Regions from separate parts of the Homo sapiens genome. Here region 1 is linked to region 2. Evidence: promoter capture Hi-C in human tissues and cell types (Jung and others, 2019). All regions are on one chromosome and are shown on one strand. The core of a region is centred on a gene start or on the middle of the fragment in contact, and the rest is flanking DNA. Distances in the headings are between cores, read along the strand shown. Region 1 overlaps CAMKK1 (calcium/calmodulin dependent protein kinase kinase 1). Region 2 holds the start of ITGAE (integrin subunit alpha E).

Evidence for each region. The method cuts DNA at HindIII sites, captures the fragments that hold promoters and counts their contacts. A contact is called where the count stands out against the background at its distance.
Region 1: a contact is called between a fragment that was not itself captured here and the fragment with the promoter of ITGAE in region 2, in 1 of the 25 tissues and cell types used here (aorta).

What each region holds. Positions count from the first base shown.
Region 1 is chr17:3,860,979-3,868,760 of GRCh38, reverse strand. It overlaps CAMKK1 (calcium/calmodulin dependent protein kinase kinase 1), which reads left to right. Exons shown (of 16, transcript NM_032294.3): 15 at 2,750-2,853; 16 at 6,478-7,782. The coding sequence ends at 6,550. Among named protein-coding and RNA genes, the nearest start is that of NCBP3, 19 kb to the right of the region's middle. RefSeq lists enhancers at 1-464, 465-966. The HindIII fragment of the contact is 6,509 bases long and covers 728-7,236 here.
Region 2 is chr17:3,798,365-3,806,235 of GRCh38, reverse strand. ITGAE (integrin subunit alpha E) reads left to right here and starts at 5,048. Exons shown (of 31, transcript NM_002208.5): 1 at 5,048-5,125. The coding sequence starts at 5,092. NCBP3 (nuclear cap binding subunit 3) reads left to right here. Exons shown (of 13, transcript NM_001114118.3): 13 at 1-4,078. RefSeq lists enhancers at 7,272-7,321, 7,332-7,391, 7,572-7,871. The HindIII fragment of the contact is 9,203 bases long and covers 496-7,871 here.

The DNA.
Region 1 (7,782 bases), core at 2,733-5,232, 64 kb before region 2:
GAATCGCTTGAACCTGGGAGGTGGAGGTTGTAGTGAGCCAAGATCACGCCATTGCACTCCAGCCTGGTTGACAGAACGAGACTCCATCTCAAAAAAAAAAAGAAAGAAATAGATGGCCCTTGCTCAGCGGCAGCAGTCACCGTGACTGGAAGAAGCATTTCATTCCGTCCAGACAGTTACTGAGCTTCCGTTCTCCAGGCACTGCACAAGGTGCCGAGGACAAGGCAGGGGAACGGCCTGGGCAGCCTTTGGATTGGAGGAGTGGCCCCAAAGCCCACGTATCAGTTAGGCGGCGCCTGCGTCTCCCCCAGAGCCCACGTATCAGTTAGGCAGCACCTGTGTCTCCCCCAGAGCCCACATATCAGTTAGATGGGCCTGCGTCTCCCCCAGCGCCCGCGTATCAATCAGGCAGTGCCTGCGTCTCCCCCAGATCCTGTGTATCAGTTAGACGGTGCCTGCATCTCCCCCGTGCCCACGTATCAGTTAGACGGCGCCTGCTTCTCCCCCAGAGCCCACGTATCAGTTAGACGGCGCCTGCTTCTCCCCCAGAGCCCACGTATCAGTTAGACGGCGCCTGCTTCTCCCCCAGAGCCCACGTATCAGTTAGACGGCGCCTGCTTCTCCCCCAGAGCCCACGTATCAGTTAGACGGCGCCTGCTTCTCCCCCAGAGCCCACGTATCAGTTAGACTGCGCCTGCTTCTCCCCCAGATCCTGTGTATCAGTTAGACGGCGCCTGCTTCTCCCCCAGAGCCCGCGTATCAGTTAGACGGTGCCTGCATCTCCCCCAGATCCTGCGTATCCATTAGACAGTGCCTGTGTCTCCCCTAGTGCCCGCTCACATTTCGGTTTTGCTCCTCTTCCTCTGCTCAGCTTCTGTGTTGGCACTTGGAAGTGATTCACATAGTCCCCCGTGGCCACCTGGGGCCACTGAGAGCCCTGCCCTGCCCCTGCCTGACAGTCAAGTGAGTCAGGGCAAGCACAAGGCCAGGAGGAGAGCCAGGGCCACTGCCGTTGGCGGGGCCTGGCCTTGCACTTTATCCCCCTCTGCAGGGTCCCGGCCCAGCTGGGACCAGCTGGCTCAATCCCTGCCCCCTATGCTTACTTGACTCTGTGGGGTCGCTGGAACCAGGCAACTCCCACGGGGTCCCCATGACCACTTGCCTGATCTTAGCCACCATCTCCTCTCTCTCAGACCACTGGAACAACCTCCCACGCTGTCCCTTGCTTCTACTCTCACTCCCTGTCCCCCTGGTCAATGCTCAACTCAGCACCCAGCATGGTCCCAGTGGCATGAGTGTGTCACCTCCCAGCTCAGAGCCTGCTTCTCACTCGGGCTGCTGTGTCCCTCAGAATCAGACCTCCAGCCTGTGCCCCACCACCCGCCCTGTTTTTCTGCGGGGCTCGTGCACCGTCCCGCCATCATGCACTCGTCTCTGGCCACGTGCCATGGAAGGGGCTGCCCCAGAGCCTTCAGACTTCGCTTCCCTCTGCCCGGGGAGTCCCACCCCCGATGGCCACGGGACTCGCTCCCTCACTTCCTTCGGCTTTTTACGCCAGGGTCCCCTCCTAGAGAGAAGCGAGCCTTCCCTGACCCTGTAGCTTCAGCCTCCCCTGCTTCACACCTCATCGCCATTCCCTTGTTTTATTTTTTCCTTTCCACTTACTGACATACATAATTTACTGATTTTTCTTCTTTACTTATCGCCTGTCTCCCCCAACTAGAATATAAGCTGTATGATGGCTGGGCGCAGTGGCTCACGCCTGTAATCCCAGCACTTTGGGAGGCCAAGGCGGGAGGATCACTTGAGGTCAGGAGTTTGAGACCAGCCTGGCCAACATGCTGAAGCCCCGTCTCTTCTAAAAATACAAAAAATTAGCCGGGTGTGGTGGTGGACGCCTGTAATCCCAGCTATTCAGGAGACTGAGGCGGAAGGATCATTTGAAGCGGGGAGGCAGAGGTTGCAGTGAGCCGAGATTGTGCCACTGCACTCCAGCCCTGGGCAACAAGAGCAAAACTCCGTCTGAAAAAAAAAAAAGGCTATATGAGGGCAGGAATTCTGGCCTCAGTGTGGCCCCAGGGCCTAGAGTAGTGGCCAGCACCCAGTAGGCAGCCAGTGGTGACCAGTGTTGACGGGATGGATGGACACAAGCGAGGGAGTGAAGGGACTGGCAAGTGTGCCGCTGCCTCTCTGCATGCGTGTGAGTCGGCGTGTCTGTGGGCACGGCATGGAACCGTCCTTGTCACGGAGGAGGGACAAAGGCAGAGAGCCAGGCTGCGGCAGCTGTTCCCCTCCTGGCAGCCCCACTGACTGGGCCACCGGCTGCGGCTCAGCCGCTTCCCGGGCCGCCCTGCAGTAGCATCTTGGCATCTTCTCGGCGGCCGGAAGGCGGGAAGGATGGCACAGCATCCCTCCATGGCATTGCTGCCGTAGCGAGAAGGTATCTTCTAATGGACTCCCACTTCCAGCCCTGGCCCTCCCCACTCTTTCAGCCTGGCCTTGCGGACCCTTCATGGGCTGGTCCCGGCCCCCTCCTCATGTACCAGTGGCATCCGGCTCCTCACCATTCCAGGAATATGCCCCCAGCTGCCAGCGCCCCGTGTTCTTGCCTCTGCCATTTCATGCTGTGCTGATTGAGATGGGACCCGCACTGCGGCCCCCTTGGCAGCTGCTCTCGGGGAATCGGAGCAGAGGCTGCGTGTCTGGGAGCCTGGGACCTGTGCTCCTCACGCTGCCTTGTCCTCCTCAGATCCTGGTGAAGTCCATGCTGAGGAAGCGTTCCTTTGGGAACCCGTTTGAGCCCCAAGCACGGAGGGAAGAGCGATCCATGTCTGCTCCAGGAAACCTACTGGTGTAAGTACTGGTGGGCCAGGGACTGCCGGGCACTCCCTGGAGTTGGGTGGGGAGGTCTGAGGCCCATCCTCCCACTCTCACTGTCGTTGGGCCAAGGCCAGAGCCTGGGGACTTGGCCAGGTCTCGGTGTTGGCCCCATTTGCATCTCTGTCCCCAAGGTTAGTCGGGGCTAGAAGGGACCTTTTGGGCCCAGCTCTTGCTTCATTCCTGGGGCCAGCATCCCTCACACACACACTTCCAGGGATGAGGAGCTCACGCAGCCCCTCCATGGGACAGGAAGACCCTTCTTCCATGCAGCTTGATGTCACTCTCTCACTGGGTCCAGCCCCTCTGGGGCTTCAAATCTGTGGCCCCCTCAGCCCTTGGCAGCCTGGCAGAGGTTTGCAGACAGGCTGATGTTGGCTTCCTGTAGGAGGCTGGCGGGCTGTAGAGGAGGGGTGCTGGCCCCTCTGCCTGGCCCTGGGGACTGTTGGCTGCTCTCCCAAGTGGCCCAGGCTGCCTGCAGCCATTGCTGGGGCTCTGTGCCCAGTCAGCACTTTGTGAGTGCTTGTTCAGTGAGTAAGCAGGGACAGGCTGGCCGGTGGACCACGGGAGAGGAACCCGCATTGGCCGAGGGCTCCCTATGGTGAGCCACGCCTGTGGGTTCACCACCTCCTAGGAGGGTCCAGAAAAGCAGCTCCCCAAGCCTGTGCGCCTCGTCCTCAGCAGATCCACCTTCTTCACTATAATAAAAGCCAGTCTGGGATGCTAATAAGGCCTGTGCTGGAGTTTGTACACAAACCTGCAGAGAGAAAACCAGTGGGGTCCTGAACCACAGCGTGGTCCTGGGACAGCCACTGCCTTCCTCTGGCCCCGGAGGGAAGCTTTGGGGAAGGGGCTGGTGGGAGTTGTTTGCCCCACCCTGGCCTGCTCTGTGTGGAAGGCGCACTCCCCAGAGGGGTGAGTGCCAGGCGCTGTCCGGGTGCCTTGGCTTCACGCTGTCACCAGGCCTGTCCGGGACCACCATGTTGGTTTCCCGTGAGGCCTCCCTCTCATAAGAGGGCCCTTCAGAAGGGTCGGGACCCCTCGTAGTGGACAAGCTGACATCTGCTCCCTGCTGGAGGTGGCTTGCACCCAGGGAGAGCCTCATAATGAGGTGGGGGGCCTGGGAGAGGCCTGGAGGTCCCAACTGCAGCTTTTCTGTCATCTCTTCAGGGAGGTGGTTGCGGTTGGGGGAGGATTCTCTGAGCTCATCCAGGAATGTAGGCCCCTGATGCTGGAATTGTGCTTAGTGTAGGGGGAGAGGGGGCATATATAATTTGACGTCCAAATGGGGACATTTTTGAGAGTGAAAGGGGAAGCCATTAATAATTATGCCAGCACGGCCGGGTGCGGTGGCTCACGCCTGTAATCCCAGCACTTTGGGAGGCCGAGGCGGGTGGATCACAGGGTCAGGAGATCGAGACCATCCTGGCTAACACGGTGAAACCCCGTCTCTACTAAAAATACAAAAAATCAGCTGGGCGTGGTGGCGGGCACCTGGAGTCCCAGCTACTCAGGAGGCTGAGGCAGGAGAATGGCGTGAACCCGGGAGGCAGAGCTTGCAGTGAGCCAAGGTCACGCCACTGCACTCCAGCCTGGGCGACAGAGTGAGACTCCGTCTCAAAAAATAATAATTATTATGCCAGCATGGTGGCTCATGCCTATAATCCCAGCACTTTGGGAGGCCAAGGCAGGATTGCTTGAGGCCAGGAGTTCAAGACCAGCCTGGGCAACATAGCAAGACCCCATCTCTAAAAAAAAAAAAAATTAGCCGGGCGTGGTGGTGGGTGCCTGTAGTCCCAGCAACTCAGGAGGCTGAGGTGGGAGGATTGCTTGAGTCTGGGAGGTGGAGGTTGCAGTGAGCTGAGATTGCACCACTGTACTCCAGCCTGGGTGACAGAGCCAGACCCTGTCTCAAAAAAAAAAAAGAAAAAAAAGTAATAATAATTATGCCAGGACAGCAGGTGGACGGACACCTGGTCCTTCTGACTCAGAGCCTGTGGTCCAGCACCCCCTAGTGGTGGAACAAGCCAGACACAGGATAAGGATACATTTAGTGTCTAGTTTGTACCTGGCAAACAGAGTGACAAGATTGGGCTTAATACTTTCCAGCTATAAAATTCTAGAATTCTGTGACCCAAGTTTAATTTGGGGTAGAGCTTTTTAAAAAAAAAATAGAGATGGAGTCTTGCCATGTTGCCCAGGCTGGACTTAAACTCCTGGCCTCAAGCCATTTGCCCACCTTGGCCTCCGAAAGTGCCAGGTGATTACAGGCATGAGCCACCACACCCAGCCTCCACGTTTAACTTTGAAAGAAGATTTTACTTCATCATCAAGTCCCAATATTTATCCTTGATAGACTGCTTTGGTTTTTTGTTTGTTTGTTTTGAGATGGAGTTTCACTCTTGTTGCCCAGGCTGGAGTGCAGTGGCGCAAACTCAACTCACTGCAGTCTCCGCCTCTCACATTCAAGCAGTTCTCTTGCCTCAGCCTCCCAAGTAGCTGGGATTACAGGTGCATGCCACCACCACACCGGCTAATTTTTGTATTTTTATTAGAGACGGGATTTCACCATTTTGGCCAGGCTGGTCTCAAACTCCTGACCTCAGGTAATCTGCCCACCTCAGCCTCCCAAAGTGCTGGGATTACAGGCGTGAGCCACTGTGCCCGGCCATAGAGTTTTTTATACTTTGGGATAATTGTAGAAACTCAGTAGTAGAGTTAAGTGGAGTTGGTCCTTTTTAAAGATATCAAAACCCATTTACTGGTTATTTTAAAAAGAGACATTTTGGGAGGAAAACTAGATATAGAAATCTGTTGAATATGTGACAGAATCCCAAGACTGATAGATGGACTCTGCCCTGTGAACAAGGCAAAGAAAAATGCAAAATGAAAGCCTCTCTACCCAGATCTGCTGGGGGATGACTGAGGTCAACACAGAAGGCCCTCAGGCCGGGCACGGTGGCTCACGCCTGCAATCCCAACACTTTAGGAGGCTGAGGTGGATGGATCGCTTGAGCCCAGGAGTTTGAGACCAGCCTGGGCAACATGGTGAAACCCTGTTTTTATAGAGATAAAAAAATACAAAAATTAGCTGGGCGTGGTGGCATGTGCCTGTAGTCTCAGCTACTCAGGAGGCTGAGGTGGGAGGATCGCTTGAGCCTGGAAGGCAGAGGTTGCAATGAGCTGAGATTGCACCACTGCACTGCAGCCTGCACGACAGAGCGAGACGCTGTCTCAAAACAACAACAAAACCACACACACAGAGAGAAGGCCCTTGATTAGGCTGATAGTTGGAGGATGTAGGGAAGTCAGCTGGGTCAGACTGTGAGCAGCTCCAGAGGCCGTGCTGGGAGGTTTAGACTTCATCTCTGGTCAATGGGGGGCCACGGAGGCGTTGCGGGCTGAGACTGGGGGCTGAGAGACCGGCAAGGAGCAACTGCCGTGATGTAGGGAGGCCAGAGGGAGGCCAAGCTTGGGGCAGTGGGTGAAGGGGGCTTTGAGAGATGTGGGATTCAGATTCCTGTGTGTGTGAGGGAGAGTGTCTCCCTGAGTGCATATTCTGACCCTGAGGTCCCTCTGTCCCTGGTGTCCCCTGAACAGGAAAGAAGGGTTTGGTGAAGGGGGCAAGAGCCCAGAGCTCCCCGGCGTCCAGGAAGACGAGGCTGCATCCTGAGCCCCTGCATGCACCCAGGGCCACCCGGCAGCACACTCATCCCGCGCCTCCAGAGGCCCACCCCTCATGCAACAGCCGCCCCCGCAGGCAGGGGGCTGGGGACTGCAGCCCCACTCCCGCCCCTCCCCCATCGTGCTGCATGACCTCCACGCACGCACGTCCAGGGACAGACTGGAATGTATGTCATTTGGGGTCTTGGGGGCAGGGCTCCCACGAGGCCATCCTCCTCTTCTTGGACCTCCTTGGCCTGACCCATTCTGTGGGGAAACCGGGTGCCCATGGAGCCTCAGAAATGCCACCCGGCTGGTTGGCATGGCCTGGGGCAGGAGGCAGAGGCAGGAGACCAAGATGGCAGGTGGAGGCCAGGCTTACCACAACGGAAGAGACCTCCCGCTGGGGCCGGGCAGGCCTGGCTCAGCTGCCACAGGCATATGGTGGAGAGGGGGGTACCCTGCCCACCTTGGGGTGGTGGCACCAGAGCTCTTGTCTATTCAGACGCTGGTATGGGGGCTCGGACCCCTCACTGGGGACAGGGCCAGTGTTGGAGAATTCTGATTCCTTTTTTGTTGTCTTTTACTTTTGTTTTTAACCTGGGGGTTCGGGGAGAGGCCCTGCTTGGGAACATCTCACGAGCTTTCCTACATCTTCCGTGGTTCCCAGCACAGCCCAAGATTATTTGGCAGCCAAGTGGATGGAACTAACTTTCCTGGACTGTGTTTCGCATTCGGCGTTATCTGGAAAGTGGACTGAACGGAATCAAGCTCTGAGCAGAGGCCTGAAGCGGAAGCACCACATCGTCCCTGCCCATCTCACTCTCTCCCTTGATGATGCCCCTAGAGCTGAGGCTGGAGAAGACACCAGGGCTGACTTTGACCGAGGGCCATGGACGCGACAGGCCTGTGGCCCTGCGCATGCTGAAATAACTGGAACCCAGCCTCTCCTCCTACACCGGCCTACCCATCTGGGCCCAAGAGCTGCACTCACACTCCTACAACGAAGGACAAACTGTCCAGGTCGGAGGGATCACGAGACACAGAACCTGGAGGGGTGTGCACGCTGGCAGGTGGCCTCTGCGGCAATTGCCTCACCCTGAGGACATCAGCAGTCAGCCTGCTCAGAGCGGGGGTGCTGGAGCGCGTGCAGACACAGCTCTTCCGGAGCAGCCTTCACCTTCTCTCTGGGATCAGTGTCCGGCTGGCCGACGTGGCATTTGCTGACCGAATGCTCATAGA
Region 2 (7,871 bases), core at 3,799-6,298:
GTGGTGGTGGGTACCTGTAGTCCCAGCTACTTGGGAGGCTGAGACAGGAGAATTACTTGAACCCGGGAGGCAGAGGTTGCAGTGAGGTGAGATCGCGCCACTGCGCTCCAGCCTGGGCGACAGAGCGAGACTCCGTCTCAAAAAAAAAAGAAAGGATTCTCACCTTCCTGTCCCTTCCTAGGAGTTTTGTGGTAGTGTTCGATCCTGTGATGTGGCCATCTTCTCCTCAGGGCCTGTGAGAGGCAGGCAGCATCTTTAGCTGAGGTAGAATGCCTGTTGGGGAAAGTCAAATAGGATGGTGGCTGGGGCCGGGGCTCTGGGGACTCCTTCTGCCCCACATACTCAATTGGAAAGACTGAGCAAGTCCCCTCACCTCCCTGGGCCTCAGCTTCCCTGTCTGTCAAATGGAGGGCTCAACTGGGGTGAGCTCCAGTTTCCTTCTAGTGCTAACGCGTGTTCAAGGATCCTTGCTCTCCTTTCCGGGGAGCATCAGGGGTGTGGGCTAGATAGCAGGAAAGAAGTAGGGGTTTGTAAACAAGAGATCCAAGCCCCTGGACCCTTGGTCCCAGCACCCAGTGCAGCCCTCGCCCTCCCAGCCCCTTCCTTAGAAAGGACAAGAAAATCCACTCCTTGTTCTCTCCCTGTCCCATCACCCCCGCAGTCCCCCACAGATCTGAGGCCGGAGGATGCCAACATGGTGAGCACCCTCTTGCTGTCTTATTCACGTAGGCTTTTCTTGGTGCCTGCACATGGCTCTTGTAAGGCCACCAATCTTGCTGGATTATGACCTCATCTAACCTTAATTACTTCCTAAAAGCCATATGTCCAAGAAGAGCCACATTGGGGGTTAGGGCTTCAACATATGAATTTGGAGGACATTTACAGTTCAGTCCACAGCACCTGGTCATGTGGAGATCCCAGTCTGCATTTGTGGGATGAAATCTCTGCTTTTTTAAAGTTTACACACCACCTAGCTGGGCACGTGGCTCACACCTGTAGTCTCAGCACTTTGGGAGGCCGAGGCGGGGATCACCTGATGTCAGGAGTTCGAGACCAGCCTGGCCAACATGGTGAAACCCCGTCTCTACTAAAAATACAAAAATTAGCCGGGTGTGGTGGCGGGCACCTGTAGTCCCAGCTACTCGGGAGGCTGAGGCAGGAGAATCGCTTGAACCCAGGAGGCAGAGGTTGCAGTAAGCTGAGATTGTGCCACTGCACTCCAGTCTGGATGAAAGAGCAAGACTCCATCTCAAAAACAAAAATAAAAAAAGTCTACACACCAAAAGAGCTGAAGGCAGGAGAGTTTGTGGTGGTTCAGAGTCCTGATTCTGGAGGAAACAGGCCTGTTTGGAGTCCCAGCTCTGCTCCTTACTAGCTATGTGGCCTCTCAGAGGCAGCATCCTTATCTGAGAAATCGGGTTGACCTTGTAGGTGGCTGAGAGGCTCAGATGAGGGCTCGCATGTGAGGCCTTGGCACTGAGCAGGGCACTCCTACCGAGTGTTCAAAGGTCGTGAGTACCACTGCTCTGCAGCCCTGGGCTCTGGTCTCAGCAATGCCGTCACTCTTTCTGGCTTCCTAAGAGTCAGAAGGCAAGTGGGAGAATAGAACCATTTCCTGTGTCTGAAGGCTGTGCCTCAGTGCTTTTGACTCACTCTGAAGACAGCAGGCAGCCCTTTCTGTTTTTTTTGGAGATGAAGTCTTGCTCTTGTCGCCCAGGCTGGAGTGCAATGGCGCAGTCTCGGCTCACTGCACCCTCCGCCTCCCAGGTTCAAGCAATTCTCCCACCATAGCCTCCCGAAGCTGGGGCTACAGGCACACGCTGCCACGCCTGGCTAATTTTTTGTGTTTTTAGTAAAGACAGGGTTTCACCATGTTGCCCAGGCTGGTCTCAAACTCCTGAACTCAGGCGATCCGCCTACCTCGGCTTCCCAAAGTGCTGGGATTACAGGTGTCAGCTACCACGCCCGACCCACAGGCAGCCCTTTCACCTCACGCCGAGCACGTCTCCTCCATCCATGAACATTTTGCAACTTTTTTTTAAAGAGACAGGTTCATACTATGTTGTCTAGATTGGACTCAAACTCCTGGGCTCAAGCTTTCCCAAGTAGCTTGAACCTCTTAAGTAACTGTGACTACAAGTGCACCTGGCCACTTTTTCTGAGACGGAGTCTCGCTCTGTCACCCAAGTGGAGTGCAGTGGCATGATCTCCGCCCACTGCGAGCTCCGCCTCCTGGGTTCACGCCATTCTCCTGCCTCACCCTCCTGAGTAGCTGGGACTACAGGCACCCGCCACCACGCCTGGCTAATTTTTTTTGTATTTTTAGTAGAGACCGGGTTTCACCGTGTTAGCCAGGATGGTCTCGATCTCCTGACTTTGTGATCCGCCCGCCTCGGCCTCCCAAAGTGCTGGGATTACAGGCGTGAGCCACCGCGCCTGGCCCACCTGCCCATTTTTTAAAAACTTTATTCTTCCTGGTATCAAGGGGAGAAAGAAAAAAATTTTTTAAAATATTTAAAACTTTATTTTGAAATAATTTCAAAATCACAGCAGTTTGAAGGGTACAACAAAGAACATTTTGCCACATTTTCTCTTTCATTCGTTCCCTCCTCTTCTCCCTCACCCCTGTTTCTTCCTATCCTCTCTGAACCATGAACCATTTGAGGATTATTTGTATACATCATGCTCGTTTATCCGTAAGATGTTTTAGTGAACATTTCCCAAGAACAGGGACAGCCTCTCACATGCCCATGGTACAGTTCTCAAATTCAGGAAATGTGTAATATTCTCTGATCAGCCCAGGAGTTGCTAATTTGTAGTTCCTGTTTCAAATTTGCCAACTGTCCCAATAATGATTTTGAAAGCCGTTGTTTTTCTGGTCCAGGATCCAATCCAGGATCAAGCGCTGCCTTTAGTTGTCCTCTCTGCAGCCTCCTTTCGTTTGGAGCAGGTCCTCAGCCTTTCTGTCTTTCATGACATTGATGTTTGTGAAGAGTACAGTCCAGTTTCTGTTGTAGAACGTCCTTGAAGTTGGTCCCGGAATATTTGTTTAAAGTGAGTTGGGAAACCACATTCACATGTCTTTTGGTTATGTGTGTATTTGTCAAACAGCCAGCCTTGTGCTGCGTGCTGTGATGGGGAGCATTACTCAACAGAGCCTGGCCCTGACCTTGGGGATGTAGTTTGGGTTTGTGGGGAAAGCAGCTACCGCCAGGTGGGCTTTACGGACCCCTGTGTGTCTCATGACTAGAGGCACTGACGCTTGGATAAATACATACTGGATGGATGCAGGATGAGTCCGCATTCTAGAAGTGTGCAGAGGTACAGAAGTGGCCCTGCTCCCTGTCCAGCACCCAGTCATCAGCTTTCCCTGGCTTCCCGAGGCACCCTGACGTTCACACTCCAAACACAAAGTCTTCTCTCAGGAATCTCGAGTGAGCTGCAGTCTGGGTTCTAGCCCTGCCCTAGCAGGGATCTGCTCAGTGACTGGGCTGCTCTCTTCCTGCTTTAGGCCAATGCGGGGGAGAGGAGACCACTGTGACTCTCCCCAGTGCCCTTGGAGCGCAGAATGAAGTGAGGGGAGGAGGAGGGTCACGAGCCCTGGAGCGCTGGGAAGACAGGCTGTAGGCCGCAGGCCCCGATCCTGCCTGGGACGAGGTTCAACAGAAGTAGGATGGTTTCATCATGACCTGGCAGGAAAACCACCAGACCTGGAATTTTGCTTTTACAACTGTTTAACTTCTGTTTCATACAGGATGGAAACCGGTGAATTGTAATCTCACATAACCGAGCAAGATCTAGTAGTCATAAGCACTTTGTCAGAGCAAAGCAGACAAGGCAAAGTGTTGGAAATGTCATCGGATCTTCACAGAACCTTAGCCAAGCAGCCTTTCAATGCGAGAAACAAAATAACATGGATTTTTATCTAGTAATGAAGTCAACACCATTGTCCACCCTGGGTTAACACATTCACATCTCAAAGCGAATGGGGCTGCAGACACTCGTGTTAGAGAGCCTTGGAATGTCCTGCCTTTTTACGTTTAATTAAAATTAAATAAAATATACAAAATTCAGTTCATCAGTTGTTCTAGTGGCATTTTAAGGGTTTAGTACCATATGTGGCTCATGAGTACCATCCTGGACAGCGTCGACCTAGAGCAGTTCCATCCCCGCGCAGAGTTCTGTTTGACGGCGCCACTCTGCACTTCCAGCAGCCTGGGGAGCAGGGGTGCAGGAGAGTTCCTTCTGTGTCACAGACTTGGTCACACAGTACAGATCTCAGATCAGCACTTAAACACGACTGCCAGCTGTCAACGGCGTGTTCTGTGGAATGCTGGGATGCATCACAGGTATGCTGGAAGATGTATAGAATTTTACTTCTGTTATTCTGGTAACTCAGAGTCCTGTTCAGTCAGTTTCCACGTCAGGTTGCTGTCCTGGTTTTAAAGAGAATGAACGCAGCCGAAGTTGAATCGAGGCAGTGATTTCACTCAGTGCGTTGGGTCTTTCCACTCACCTGGCCCTCCAGAACCCCAGGGCCTTGAGTGCATGGGCTGGTACAAGAGCCCAGTTTTTGGCTGGGGAGGCACTTCCTATGGGAGGGGGACGCCTGTCTCAGTGCTGAGGCAACCACCACCGAGGACCCTGGGCTGGAAGCTGGGCTGAGATGTCTGGTGGTAGGTTCTGAGGCAGGACAGGGGACCGACTCAAATGGATGATACGAACGGCAGGCTGGATTCACGTTGCTCCTGCACCTCCAGCATCTGCTGAGGACACCTAGAACTGTGGCCCTGGCCAAACCTCAGCTCCCTATTCCATGAAAGTGTGGGTCAAAGTGTGGGTGGTAGAGTGGGGCTGACAGTGGCCCCTAAGCTCCTAGGGTCCAGCCCACAACTGAGGAAGCCACACGGCTGGTTGTGTACGAGCCGGAGTGTCTCTGTTTGGTTGAAAGTGCCGGTCTGTGGGTCCTTGCTGGTGTGTGTGCTTCTGTCCCCGCCTCCTGGCCTCCTGGCTGAGGGGAAGCTGAGTGGGCCACGGCCCATGTGTCGCACTCGCCTCGGCTCCCACACAGCCGCCTCTGCTCCAGCAAGGATGTGGCTCTTCCACACTCTGCTCTGCATAGCCAGTAAGTCCTCTCACCCGCTGCTTCGAGGGGCTGCTGTGCCCTCAGCTCCAGCCAGGTGTCTGCAGACTACAGCCTTGACTGTCTGTCTCTGATGGGGCTCAGTTAGAGCCAGAGGTTAGAGAGTGGCAGCTCCTCCAGGAAAGGAGTCTTGCTCGGTGGGTCAGGGCCCCAGGCTTGTTGGGAAGGGCGGCTGAGGCTTCGTGTTGCCAGTTCTGTCAGCCAGGGCCTTTGGACTCCAGGGCTCTGCCATTCTGTTCCTCCTCCAGCCAGCCTCCCCCCGCCACCGAGGCCCTCTCCCCATGGCACCCACTTGGGGCAGGTCCTTGACTCTGTAGTTTGTTCTCTGAGTGTGGAGGCTCCGCCTGGCAGAGCTCCCTTCTGTTACAGAGCAGGGGTTGGGCTGATGAGGGTGAGGACCCTGTGAGAGAGTGTTGACCAGAGACTGGGGGCAAGTGTCTGTATGGTAGAGGGTGTGAGTGTTGGCAGGGAGCCTGCTTCCTGTGTTGTCAGGCCCAGGGTAAAAACTGGAATGTGGGGTGGGGGGAGGCACTTCTGCTGCCTGGGGGGTCCCATTTTAGCCTTTAACTGTCCCATGGAAGCCTCTGGGCAAGCCAAGCCATGAGTCCTTTCGGGGGCCCCCTGTGATGAGACAGCACGGTCAGGTGAGCCCCTGGAGGCTGCTAAGATTAAGCCGGAGGCCAGGGTGGTCCTGCCTAGTGATCTGAGCAGACTTCCCATGGGTCTCCTGCCCCTGCTCAGGAGGTTGGCCGGAGAATTGGATGGGCATCAAGCTTATGTGGATGAAAGGCTCCTGGTAGCTGAGTTCTCCCTGAAAGATGGGCTGAGGCTGTGCTGGGAGGGGACTTGGGATTAGCATCCCACCTGGGGCCAGATCACCCAGGAAGCAGGCCACAATGTGTAGGGTACCAGCAAGGAACACGTTTTTGGACAGATTTTAATATTTTATATTTCATTTTATTTTATTTTATTTTTTGAGACAGAGTCTTGCTCTGCTGCCCAGGCTGGAGCCCAGGCTGGATCTTGGCTCACCATAACTTCTGCCTCCCAGGTTCAAGCAGTTCTCCTGCCTCAGCCTCCCGAGTAGCTGGGATTACAGGCGCCTGCCACCACGCCTGGCTAATTTTTGTATTTTTAGTAGAGACAGGGTCTCACCATATTGGTCAGGCTGGTCTCCTGCCCTCAGGTGATCGACCTGCCTCGGCCTCCCAAAGTGTTGGGACTACAGGCATGAGCCACCTTGCCCGGCCTAATATTTTATATTTCAAAAACATCAGAATAGTCACCATGGAAAGGTCAACAGTTTGTTGAACTTCCTTTTATTTTACAATTTAGACTTCTCTGTTTTTAGTTACATGTGGGGTGTGGAGAGAGTCTCACTCTTTTTATGGCTTGTGGCTTTGATCTCCCATTACCAAGAATATCTGGAGCAGATGCTTAGACTAGACTCTTGTCTACCCTCTCCCAGTACAGAGGAGGTGACTGGGGCACAGAGCGGGCAGTGACTACCCAGGCTTGCAAGCAACTGATAATAGACACGAGGCTCAAGCCCAGGCCTCTGTCCTGCCTCCCAGCTCCAGAATACTCCTGTGGCTCATCTGTCTCCTTTAGCCTCTGAGACCACCACCCATCACCTCAGTGCCTTTTCCAGCAGGTGGCATCGATCAAACCTCTTTTGAGGCCTAGGCCCTTCCCAAGCTGATGGGCAGCAGAGAGCGATGATGGAGCAGACTTGCCATGAGACCACTTAGCCCACAGCTCAGCTCAGCCACGGGAAGGGGACCAGAGCAGGGCCCCCGCAGCTCCGGTGTGGGTGGCGGAAACGAGGCTGCTGCAGTTCTGCTCCATGCTGTGAGGTCCTGAGACTAGGATGGGCCAGTCCAGGAGAGTTTCCTGGAGGAGGTGAGGTGGCGTTGAGTCTTGGGGGCTGAGGAGAGTCTGAGAAAGAAAATGTCCAGGAGATGCTGGGAGGAAGAACTCCCTCAGACTGTGGCTCCAGGCCCAGCACCCTGTACCCTGTGCCGGGTTGGGCCTCCTTAGGCTGGAGAGAATCCAGGACTGGCCTGGCCTGGCCCTGACCTTCCACTCTCTCCAGGCCAGCCACTCTGGTGATGCCTACTTCTTATTTGTGGCAGCAGACGGAATAATAGCAGTTGTCTAAGGGAGATTTTAGAAGCATTGGGTGCAGACAGACACTGAAACCCTGGAACTGTCCACACCCTGACCACCAGCCCCATCATGCCCTCTTACCCTGTGGCCTGCTGTCCCCAAGTCAGTCTTCACCCCTGACTCATTCTGCAGTCACATCAACTCACTTCTCCATCCTGGGTCTCAGAGGTTGAGTTTCCACCCTTGCGTGAAGAAGCCTGTCCTGTCAGCCTACAACACCTTACAGGGGTGAAGAAGAAGGAACCAGAAGTCCAGGGCCCGCTCTGCTGGTGGCACGCACTCGGGCTGAGGCCAGGGGCTGTGCCGGGGCATCACCCCGGGCCTGTGCGTGATAGAAAACCTCAGTCCTTGGGGAGTGGGAGACTGTAGCATCTGAGGTGGGCTCTGAAGGACGGGGAGGTCCTTGGCAAGTACAGGCTGGGGGTGAGCAGAGGGGCCTTCTGTGCAGGGGGGATAGGAGGGACCAAGCCCTGGGGTGTGAAGAGTCTGGTTTGTAGGAAGATGGAGGCGAAGTGTGAGTGGGAGCAGGAGATTGTCTCCTCTGGTGTTGCTTTCCCTT